Linked DNA regions of Homo sapiens: region 2 is linked to region 1. The links are contacts of gene promoters, found by promoter capture Hi-C in blood cells and fetal thymus (Javierre and others, 2016). All regions are on one chromosome and are shown on one strand. The core of a region is centred on a gene start or on the middle of the fragment in contact, and the rest is flanking DNA. Distances in the headings are between cores, read along the strand shown.

Region 1 (6,087 bases), core at 3,164-5,663:
TGAATCAGAGAGAGTAATTCTGTTCTGAGTTCCAAGTTATAGCAAATTTTGTTCATTTCTGATCGGTATGTTGGAGTTAAAACAGAAGAGCAACTACAACCACAGTAAGACATAAACAAGACAGCCCAAAGAACTCTATTTCCCCTCTTCTAAGATGGAGATTTGGCAGTATCTGTTACCTTTCTGTAGGAAAAGAATAGACCTCCCAAAATGCTTCAATATAATAATCAATCTAATACACTTTCCCACTAATTTTAAAAAATAATTAGTTGGCAAGGTGAGGCTGGTGCCCAACACAGCAAACAATTTCCTTTCCTGTATCTGAGTAACAGACACATGCAAACTTGTCATCTCAACTCAGCAAAATAGCTCTAAACCCTCTATGGGAAGAAACTGTACTTTCAAGTTAATATAATTTTAGATGTAAGCTAAAACCCAGGCCCTATGCTGCTGCCAACTGAGATCTCAATTATGGTGTTTCTTTATACTACTATGAGAGACCGCCTGGTTTCAGGAAACACCAATATACTAAAAATTACATTACATAGGTACCATCCCACAGTTTCCTGGGATAGGCTTTTCCACAAAAATGGTGTCCAGTCAGCTGGGAAGTGATGGGAAAAGGAGAGCTGGATAGAGGATGAGAAGAACTTGCTCTAATAACAGAAAAAAAGGTGCTGAGGCTTGAATTAAGCATCATGGTATAAAACAGGGGTCCTCAAACTACTGTCTGTAGCCAACACTGCCTGTTCTCATCTGGGACTGCTCTTCCTGCTATAAAAGCAGAGTTGAGTAGTAGTTGCAACACAGATTATCTGGCTTGCAAAGTGTAACATATTTACTATCTGGTCCTTTACGGAAAGTTTGCTGACCTGTAATGCAGAAAAAAAATCACAATACTAGCTGTTAGATTAGTTGTCAACTCCTGAGGCTGCCACTGGTTATATTACTATAACCTAGATGAACAATTAAACTTTCTATGCCTGTTTCTTCATCTGCAAAATGAATGGGTTAGATCAGCGGTCTGTACCACAGTCTGTGAGCCAAACCCTGCCCACAGGCCTGCATTAGCATGGCCTACATGAATTTTCTTAGATAATGTTAAAGGGTTGTTAAAAAACGTAAGTACATAAAAGAACAGGTAACAGAAACCATATATGGCTTACAAAGCCTAAGGTATTATGTACTTCTTTACAGTTTTTGCTGATGCCTGCATTAGACCAAAGAACAACCAATTTGTTTACCGGAGGTGGTAAAACTAACCACGGGCACAGAGCCAGTTAATAGTACAACCAGAATGAAGACCCAGCTCCTCTAAACCCTGGCCCTTGGCTCTCTGTCCAACACTCCTTCACATCACATTCTAATCGCAGAAAAAAAGCAGTTTGGAATCCACACCTAAGATATGGTGTATTCACTCATACATAGAAACCCCTTGCTTCACACTCTGTGGTCACCCTTATCTGATCCTCTACCATCTCTGACTTACATCAAGGGCCTCCTAATTGAGTTTCCCACTTCCTTTCTGTCCCTCCCACAATGCGACCTTCATCCAGCAGCTAGATGTGAATCTCATTATGTCATTCCTGAGTTTAAAACTCTCCATTCATAACCATTTCATTTCCATTGTTATTCCTAAAACCTATGAGTTTAAACCTATCATTTTTCCTTAGATCACTGTTTCATCTAGACTGTGCAGCTTCTGACACATAGTATTTCACTACGACATATTCTAAAACTTCAGACTGAATTTCCTCTTTGACTCATGACTTTTGTTTCGTAATGTTTTACAAGTTTACAAACAGGTTTCTTTTCAAGTCTTCCAGGATATTATTAATTTCTAACTTTTTGAGATAAGACTATTGCCTAGACTGCCATTATTTTTTAAAATATTCTACATCTCAATGTATTTTGTTTTTGCCCATCTGAACTGTCATAAATTAAACTCTACCACTACTGTTTTTCTATAAAAATACATAAACCCAAACACACATAATTAAAAGCAGAAAGCAATAGCCACAGTTTCAAGCATATTTACAAATCTACTGTCCCATCAATATCATTAATTTCTTGATTAAAGTGAAATAATGGAATTGGCTTACCATTGGTTTACCATAAAATGGAAATCCTTGTAGCTGTCTCAAGGCATTTGTGGATGAGCCCAGTTCCTTAAATATGACAAAGGCCTGCCCCCTCATCTTCATGGTCTTTAAAGCCACAATGTCCACCACATGACCAAACTGAGAAAACAGGGCATATAGGGATCTCTTCAATTCTGTCCAAATTAGAAAAGAAACAAGTTATTGGTAATAAAGTAATGACAAAAGTCTTCATAAAATGATACTGCATTGAGTTGCCCCCCCCACCATTCACTTATTTATACAGTTATATATTTTAATATTTATAAAAACATATACTATTCCCATTGGCTATATGTAATTTTAAAAGTTATATGAAACCATTATATCTATGAGTAGAAACAGACTGTACACACTGTCAGTTCCTACCTATTTTTGTTTTTTAAAAGCCTTCAAATCCCTATAGGAAATGGGATAAACCATTATTTCAGGCACTAAGATGATGAGGTAAGAGGTTTTGAGGCAGTACAATTTTTAAGACAGTAGTAAATAAACACATTTTAGTAGTGAACAAGTATTCTAAAAAGCACTTACCTTCCTTTTTAATTTTGTCATTCATATTGTTGATATAAATTGTATGATTTGGTCTGATATCCATGTTTGTGTTAAATTCTTCAGGAGACAGTAAAAAATCTGTTATAAAAAGGAAGGAGTAAATTATACTGGACTGTGGCATAAGGACACAACACAAGAATTATTAACTTTTCATTTCTCTTTCAATCCCAGTTGTCAGAAAATGTCAGTTTGGCTGTAGCCTTTATTGTATCTCCAGCACCTACTAGCCCTCCTTTTCATACAGAAGAAGAACAGTTTCTCACATTCAAAACTTGGAGCACCAATACCTAGCCAGATTTTAGTAACACCATTTAATTCAACACATTTATTTTTACACTTACGTTTCACTTATGACACGTGACATTTTCTTTCCACCTCCTCAATGAAATAATTTTAAAATGTAGATTTGAAGAAAAATGACCAAAGTAGCAAATGTACATCCAGTAAAAATCATAAGGTTAGACATTAATGAAGTTTGCCAACTACTTAATGGGTGCACTTACAAAGTCCTTCCATACCTATTAATTTGTATACAGCATCACCAAGCTGTCTGGACTCCAAGGTTATCTCTAACCGACTTGAAAGAAAGGAGCTCAATGACAGCAGTGTGGCATGACGATTAAACTCAGATTCCAGTATCAGCCAGATGTGAATTCAAATCCTATTTATGCTTCTTACTAGCTGTTTGCCTGAGGGAAGTTCCTTAACCTCTCAGGTCCTCATCAGTAAAATAAGAATGGTAACAGAACCTACCCAATAGAACTCAGAAGACTAAATGAATTCTAGCACAGTTCTGCATCAGCGGTAAACACTTAAGAGTAGCTATTATTAACAGCTATTACCAGGTAAGGAACTTGCCTAAGGTCACACAGCTAATAAGCATCAGGCCTGGAAATTCAGCCCTTGCTTTCTCCTCTACACTTGTCTTCCTCATATACCACACTATTGCATTTTTTACATGGTTTTTACTTGCAAATTGTGAACTTGGATGATTTCCTTGTGTGCCCCACATATTCCTTTATCTCACAGTATTTACAGAGCATCCACTGTATGTGAACTGCATTGGATGATTGACAAGGGAAGAGCCTACAAGCAGGGGCTGCACTTGTGCAGGTAACAGGTAAAACGTAACGCTTCTCAAAGCCTTGCGACCCCCTAAATCGAAATCTGGAGAAGGGGCAGGGGTCGCAAAGGAGACGACGAAAGGGAAGTGACTGAGGCAGAGGTCAAAGTGAAGGTAGGGGGACAAAGGGGAGGCTCTTGCAGGGTTTCATGCGAGGTTTGATCGTGGGCTGCGTTGTTACAGGGACACCCTGAATTACCCGCCACCACCAAAAGGGAGCCGCTGGAAGACACCTGAAAGCGCAGTGAACTGTCCACGCCTCGCACGAGCAGACTGACATTAACTATCCTTTACTTCGTACGCGCAAGCCTCCCGCCTCTCCAGACACAAGCACCTTCGCCCAAGGCCCCCTAACGAAGTCCAAGGGAGCTGCCACGCGATGCCCGGCCCCAGAGTCAGTCTCCTCACCCCCAAGCCTGCCCCTCCGAGATCCAAACCCGGGCCAAACGCGTACCCACCCCAGCTTCGCGCTTCGTCCGCTCCCAGCTGCAACAGGGGAGAAAAGGGCCGAGGAGCCAGGAAAACCGAAACAGCGAGGTAGAAGGCGCACGAACCCACCTAAGGCCTACGCCGACTACTGTAAGAACCAAAAGCAGGAAACGGAGCCAGGCACCGGAAGCAACGTAGCCACGCTCCTCAATCGAGCGCCGACAAGTCTAGAAGCCGAGCACAGAGCCGATCGATGCTTCCGGGTCTCTGGCAGCCAGGGCTGGCAATCTCTCTGCGCGTGCGTCTGCCCTGCGGGCAGGAGAAGAGTCCGGAAATGGAAATGGGGAAAGAGAAGGGGGTTGTGAGGACCATGCTGCGAGGGAATAGTGAAGGGGAGTGAATCATTTCCCCTACCACGACCTTGCGAAGCTTTACCCGGCGCAACAGTGCCTTCCACCTTTACAAATCCTATGTAATTTTACAGGCGCTGCCCCTCATGCTATGGGGCAGTTAGTCCTGGTTTCGCCCTTCTTTGGGCTCTAGCTACCCCGGTTTAAAATCACCTTTAGGATAGCCAGTTCCTCCTGCCTCCGAGTCTCCTCTGATTCATGGGGCTCTGCAGGAACTGTCCTCCAACACTGTGCTGATGAACTTGAATCTCAGAGGCTACTCAGTTTGAGGGCCCAGGGCAGACAGAACTGGTGTCTGCCCAATTCTCATCTCTCACCAGATAAGGCAACCATGCTGACTAGAACCCAGTCATCTGTAAGATCATCTGCCTCAATTCACTCGAAAAAATAATTCCCTACCACCCTTCCCACTCTTTTCTTCCAACAAAAGGTCTAGATTTTTCTAGGGTATTCTAAGGAGTTAGTATTTATGCCAAGCTGAATGGGAGTTCCCAAAGTGCATGCATTCATTCATCCATCCATTCATCAGATGTCTGTAAAGCATCACCTGGAATATGAAATGGTTGTTAAGAGTCAACTGGAACCTAATCTTGTACCCTCTGCTTAACTAATCTCTCTGACCTTCACTTTTTTCATCTGTAAAATAGGGATCCTAATAGTACCTCCTTCTAGTTGTTGTAAGCATTAAATGAGCTAAAATAAATGTAAAGTGATTGGCACATTGTCAGACACAATAAATGCTCAAAAATGTTATTTCTGAATTCTGGCTATAACTTGGTTCTACTGGTGAGGCAGGTAGCTGTCAAATAAGTTGGTTTTATCAGCTGGGAATTTTTATTTTTTAAAAACACCCAAAGTTGCAACAACTTGAAAATAATATAAGCTTTTTAAGGGTGGGGTTTTTGTCTGCTCTGTTCACTCAAGTACCCTTAGTAATGGGAAAAGTGACTGATAATTAATATGCATTGGATAATTCAATGAATGACATGGAAAACTAGGCAACAGTAAAACAAATATGCTTTGAACATGCACCTGAGTGTAGAGAATGTTAAGGGATCACAGAAAAGCATCGTTTTATTATATAGATCTAAAACTAGAAGAAATGGCTGAGTGTAGTAGCTCACACCTGTAATCCTAGCATTTGGGGAGGCTGAGACAGGAGGACTGGTTGAGTCCAGGAGTTCAAAATCATCCTGGGCAACATAGTGAGATCTCATCTCTAAAATAAATAAACCAATGAGAAGAAATGTCCTATCTCAGTCAAAGAATTATATCTTTAACAAATTAAAAGAGAATATAAACTTAATATAAACAATTTCTAAATAACAAAGGACAAGCTGTTTTGCATATTACTATGAGCATCTCAGCAATTAGTTCTGTTTGATAATAATGAGGATGGCTACACTACTGAGAATAAACTATACTCTGTATT
Region 2 (5,974 bases), core at 144-2,643, 6.6 Mb before region 1:
CTTAACTGCCACAAGGTTTTTATTCTCTGGCAGCCAAACAAGCACTGGCCTCTAGATAAGCAATATTCAAACAATGTGCTTTTCATCCACCTCCACATGCTGACTGACACGCCCCCTGCCCCAGCCCCACCACTTCCACAAATAATTACTGCTTTGATTGGACCAGAGACTGACTGCAGTAACTTTTTCCTGATGGGAAACAACCGAACAGGGGCTGATTCTGGCGGTTTACAGAGGCTGCACACAAGTGCATCGGTGTCCTGAAAAGATCTTTCAACTTATAGGGTCTAAATGTAATACATGAATACCTGTAAATGCTAAGAGTCCACCCCAAAGTAAACATAGGTCACCTGTAACATGCACGTTTGTCCAGTAAGCATGGGTCAGGACCCGTTTCATGAATATTCATAGCTCTTCCTGTGGCCTGTTCATATGTGTACTTGGCTAAGTCCTTCAGCTTAAATTCCTGTCTTAGGCCCCCTTCCCTCCAGCTGCCTGCCTTTTGAGCTTCTGCCAGAAGCTATGCTTCCCAGCCTGTCAGAAGGGCCACCTTGCAGGTTATCACCGTTTAAAGAAATAAAGCTCTCCTTTCTATGTTTGTGATCTTTTTTTTAAATAATACAAATAGACAATTCACTTGACAGTGTGAATGGCATACTTCACTGACAATGGAATACTATAAAAACAATAATAAACCACTGATAAACATCAACCTGACAAAGTTAAATATAGTGTTTCATGCTGTAGAACTCTGCACGAGAAAAGTACACGGGAGTGAACAATTGTTACGTAAGGGCGTTCACTGCAGTGCACTTACATTAGTGAAACTTTGGAAACAATCTCACCTATAAGGAGATGGCCGAAGAATTTGATATATCCAAGCACTGGATTATTATGCCGGTCATTAAAACAATGTTTAAAAATATGTGTAATAGCTTGGGGAAATGCTCACCATGTTATAATGAGTAAAGACGGTACACTATTTTACATAGGGTCTGATGTGATTTGAAAACAAATCTATAGAAATAGACTGGAAAGAAATGTATCAAATTCTAAACTGCACAAGGAAGAACACTGACGCACGCGCAACGCCGGCGCCCTGCCCACTAGGCGCCCTCGCTGCCCCTCACCTGCACAGCCGGCGCACGCCCACAGGCTCGTGAGGGAGCGGCCGGTGGGTCAGGCTGGGCGGCACTCCTCGCCCATTGGCTGTCCCGGAGTCCGGCCCCGCCTCTCCCCGCCTTCTGGAGCCGCTGGTATAGCTCCTTCCAGGGCTCCTTGGAGACGGAGGGCGGGGCTAGGGCGCCGGAGTCACGTGGTCGCGCCACCGCGCGATTACTAGCTGTCAAAAGAGTCCTCAGAAGTGTCCTGAGCGGTCGCAGGGTAATGACGTCGGCCGTATCGGGGATGCTGGAACCTGCGGTTGAGTGAGAAACCGGCGCCACCGCCTGCGTCTTGGTCTCGGGCTGGTGGCCAGCGGGGTCTGGGCGTGGTTTTACCCAGCTCCTTTGCGAAGCTGCTGTCCTTTCCTCAACGTTACCACCCGGCTGGGCAGCCTACCCTCGGTCAGTACGTCCTGGCAAGAGCGCTTCGGGCGTGGCGTTCGTGTCGCGGGGGCCTCGGCTCAGAAGCGAGGGAAGAGCAGCCCTCAGAGGAGCGGCGACCGCGCTTACCGGGAGCCCGGGTTGGGAGAGGGCTCCCCAGGAGGGGTGTGAGCTCCGAACGAGAAAGAACGCCACCGCCTCGTGGGGTCTCTTCCTAATGTGCAGATTCCAAATCTCTACAATGCTGCAAAAGAGGTTACAGTCCACATCAAATTAAGCATGCCCTAAAGGGCAGCTGGGGTTCAGTTCAAGAGTTGAGTTTTAACACACACCTTTACCTGCCTTAAAATTGGGCAAGGTATCACAACGTTAAACCATTTCTCACAAGGCTCGTTGGTGATGTTTAAGATTTTTTGTTTGTTTGTTTGTTTTTTGTTACGGAGTCTCGCTCTGTCGCCCAGACTGGAATGCAGTGGCGCGATCTTGGCTGACTACAACCTCCGCCTCCTGGGTTCAAGCGATTGTCCTGCCTCAGCTTCCTGAGTAGCTGGGATTACAGGCGCCTGCCACCACGCCCAGCTAATTTTTCTATTTTTAGTAGAAACGGGGTTTCGCCTTGTTGGCCAGGCTGGTCTTAAGTTTTGCATCCTGGCTCCCTCCTCTTACCTAGTCCCAGCCTCTTGTCTACAGGACAAAGCAACTTTCTGCAGTTTTCTGTTTGCTCTTTAGAGAGACGGGGCCCTAATTTGGCAAAGTGGTAGGGGAGACAGGGCTGGTGTTTAAGGTCGACCAAAGCAACATCTAAATCTCTGCTCTTCCCCCAAATTGTCCAAATTAGCAGCAACAGGTGTGCACCTTCCAAGCTTGCAACAGACCACATTCAGAAGCTTGATTTCTTGTTGTTCTGGGAATATCTGGATCAGAGGTAACATGGTTCACTAGGACTCCTCAGCTTCACCCAGTGTCCATTTCACCTCCCCCGGCCTTCCAATGTCTCTTCTTGCAGATTTCTCCAAGCCACTCTCCCCGTCATCTCCTCCACCCCCAGGACCCAACTCCTGCCCCTCCCACCCTAGCCCCTGTTCTCCCTGCCCACCTCCTACCCCACTGGAGTGGCCTTTCATCAAACCTAAACCAAAGAAACCAACAGACCTTGCTGTCACCACTACTCCGGGACCTGGAAGTTAAAGCGAGGGAGAGACGGTGAAACACAGAAAGCAGAACGCCTTCTGTTCTTCCACAACACAGGGTTTGTGGACGTGGCCACTATAAGAACTCGCACTGCGTGCTGATTATACTCCTCAGCACAATTCATTTCTTAAACTTTTTAGAATAATTTAAAATTTACAAAAAGTTGCAAAAATAAAAACCAGTAAACTTTTCACCTTCATCTGCCTTATAATTAAGGCAGCGGGCAGCGCGCTGGACAGAACGGGAGGGGCTTGCGCTTTCCGCCGGTGGGAAACCCCACCCGCAGGGACGAGCCGGGACCATCTGGCCCTACCTGCCGAACGGCCGCTTGGTGGAGATGTGTCCCAGAACCGAAGGAGGAGGGTGCCACGCACATTTGTCTTGCCTTCCCCGGTGGCGGGGGCATGGCAAGGGCGGAGCTTCCCGCTGTGCCCTTGGAGGCCGCCTGCAACCAGGCTAGTGTAGGTGGGGACGCACGCCCTGTACCCTACCCATCCTGCCCATTGCGGGTCTGGCCCGGACCTGAAGGGCAGTAGTTGGGGCCGTCCCCGCGTCTTCTGGGCCCTGTAGTGAATACAGTCTGCCCCATTCAAATCCTTTTCCTCACTTAGGATTACTGCTGTGTGTCAGTGTCACACACCCCAAATTGATAATGGCTTAAGATGGGATTTCTCATTTAAAAAGAAGTCTTTGGTTGAGTGAGCTGGGGCTATTTTGGTGTTTCCACATGGGACCTAGGCTCCTTTTAGCTCAGCACTATCCTACGTCTAGGGTATGGCTGAGCTGTTCTCTTGGCCAAGACTGAGCCAGAGCCCGTGGTCAGGTCAGCATAACCTTTCCAGGCAGCAGGATAGAGTGGGAAAGAAAGAAGGGTCTGTTGAAGGAAAATTCCCCCAAGTTCAGTCCTACTTCATTGGCCAGAACTTAATCACATGTCAGACCTAGCTACAAATTGAATGAGAAAGTCAAGTATTTAAGGTGGGTCCCTTATCTCTCAAAACACTGGGCTTCAGATAATAGAGAAGGGAAGGGGTGTCAAGAGGAAACGGCTACCTGTGTCACTGTGCTTATCAGGATTCTTACCCTTCTCAAAATTTCCCATTGCAGTATCTTGACTACCCTATCCCAAACCTAGCACACTTTTACCAAAGACAACTTAACTGGGGAAGCTGCAGCATGGCAGGCACATCATCTATTGGTCCAACTTCTATAGGGTTTTCTATTCTTTACATTGAAGAAATGCAATTGGGTTTGGCCTTTAGGATCAGTAACAGCAGCTTCTGGTTCTGATGTCCTCCATCCTAGTTTCAGTGCTTCTTCCTCTCAGAATCAGTGCTGATTCACTTTCTCTTTATCAATGAGTTTAATATAGTGGCTTCATTTATAAGCAATTAGCTAACTCTAGTATTTCATCTGTTCTCATCATTTAATTCTCAGCTAAGGTGCTAAGGTAGGGCCCAGCCATCTGTTAGGTGATTCTGCTATATCCTAAGGTGATGTATCCTAAAAGACACCTAGGGTGCTTTTAGAAACTGCCCATGCCCAGCCGTATCCTCAAAGATTCAGGCAAACAATTAGCCGGGTGTGGTGGCATGTGCCTGCAATCCCAGCTACTCAGGAGGCTTAGGCACGAGAATTGTTAGAACCCGGGAGATGGAGGTTGCAGTGAGCCAAGATTATGCCACTGCACTCCAGCCTGGAACAAAACCAACCCCCCTACCCACCACCACACACACACACACACACACACACACACACACACACACACACACACACTCAAGCATGGTTGGGTCTGGAGTATGGCCTTGGCATAGGTAATTTTCAGTGTCCCAAGGGATTCTAGTGTGCATGGGGCTGTGAATCACAGCTCCAGGTGGGCCAACTATGTGCACACTGGTGCCTGGGGTAGGTACTAAGCCCTGATCCTCACCCCTGTGCGGGTGCTTCCTATTATGCTTTCTGCCTTTAGCCCTCCTCCTCCCTCACAACCTGGTCAAACACATCAGACAGGGAAAGAAGCAACATGTGTATTATTAAATTATTTGTCAGAATTTCCAGAATCAGAGTCTCTACTGGGCAAGTAGAAAAATAGAAAAGTTTACTACTTTGAAAAGGAAACTATGACAAACAAGTATATATTCAGGAAAGGGACTCCTAGAACTTGAGCAACAAAAAAGAGTTCAACCTCGGCACAGTGGAGTCTGCAGTGTCTCCGCAACAACAGAAATGAACTTGTGTTCCTCACATCCTTGAGAGTCGAGGTTTGCATTTCTCTACAGAGCTAGGGCTGAATGAAGCAAAGAGACCTCTGCCACCCCCACTAGCTGGCCCAGTCCTGGAAGCGGAAGCAGTCACTTGCGATCTTCCACACTGTGTTGCTGGGTGAGGCCTGGGCGGTCAGGATGAAGTTCTGGTTGAAGTCCCGTTGTTTGTTCCCCTCAAACTTCACTGATCCACAGATGACAACAAGGACCGTGGTCTGGCTTGGTGTGGCTTCATCATGAACAGGCTGGCAGTCTACCACGCTGATTTGGAACTCGCTGGAAGGCAACATTTCAAAAAACTCACTCAAGGATTCTTGTCCTGAAACAGCATTGCCATTCCAGACCAGGGTGGCTGTGCCCATGTACAGGCGGGACAGCAAACGCCGCCGCTTATCCATGGTGGTGTAGTAGACATTGACAAACTCCTCAGCAGCTCTGCAGGCCTGATCCACATAGGTCTTGAAATCCACAGATGCCATCTCTGGTTCTATGGAAGGAGGGCTCCACCAGGGTATTTCCTCTGCCTTGGGGAACCAGGGGCTGCAGGGAAGTAAGGTTGAAGAGAAGCCACGTGAATGCCAAAGTTCATTCTGCCCTGACAATGGAACATTCCTCCTTTTCTACTACTGGCAAAATAGTTACAGACTGCAGAACAATGACTGTAGGCTCAAATAGTACCCAATGCCTAAAAATGCCTAATTTTACTAAGACTCAGTTTGCTCACTGTTAAGATGGGATTACCACTGTGGCAAACTGAGATAGTATACCTTAAGTGTTTAGTTTAAAAACATTTAGTTATAGTCAGCACTCCATATCTGAGGGTTTTGCATCCACAGATTCAGCCAACCTCAGGGCGAAACCTGCAAATACGTTGGGCTGACTGTGCTATGCCATTTTGTTTTTGTGACAGTCTCACTTTATCACCCAGGCTGGAGTGCAGTGGCGCGACCTCGGCTCACTGCAACACCTGCCTCC

The links. The method cuts DNA at HindIII sites, captures the fragments that hold promoters and counts their contacts. A CHiCAGO score of 5 or more calls a contact.
Region 2: a contact is called between the fragment with the promoter of LINC01431 here and the fragment with the promoter of SNRPB2 in region 1, in 4 of 17 cell types (non-activated CD4 T cells, naive CD4 T cells, activated CD4 T cells and 1 more). The highest score is 19.3, in non-activated CD4 T cells.

The regions. Positions count from the first base shown.
Region 1 is chr20:16,728,352-16,734,438 of GRCh38, reverse strand. SNRPB2 (small nuclear ribonucleoprotein polypeptide B2) reads right to left here and starts at 4,413. Exons shown (of 7, transcript NM_003092.5): 1 at 4,275-4,413; 2 at 2,673-2,771; 3 at 2,103-2,275. The coding sequence starts at 2,736. RefSeq lists a silencer at 3,956-4,005 and enhancers at 4,156-4,275, 4,326-4,375, 4,434-5,302. The HindIII fragment of the contact is 9,448 bases long and covers 1-4,676 here.
Region 2 is chr20:23,353,546-23,359,519 of GRCh38, reverse strand. It overlaps LINC01431 (long intergenic non-protein coding RNA 1431), which reads left to right and starts at 1,393. Exons shown (of 3, transcript NR_109884.1): 1 at 1,393-1,565; 2 at 2,383-2,469; 3 at 2,551-2,926. It overlaps NXT1 (nuclear transport factor 2 like export factor 1), which reads right to left. Exons shown (of 2, transcript NM_013248.3): 2 at 4,749-5,539. The coding sequence starts at 5,478. The coding sequence ends at 5,056. RefSeq lists a silencer at 1,058-1,247 and enhancers at 1,298-1,687, 1,878-1,967. The HindIII fragment of the contact is 4,137 bases long and covers 1-2,409 here.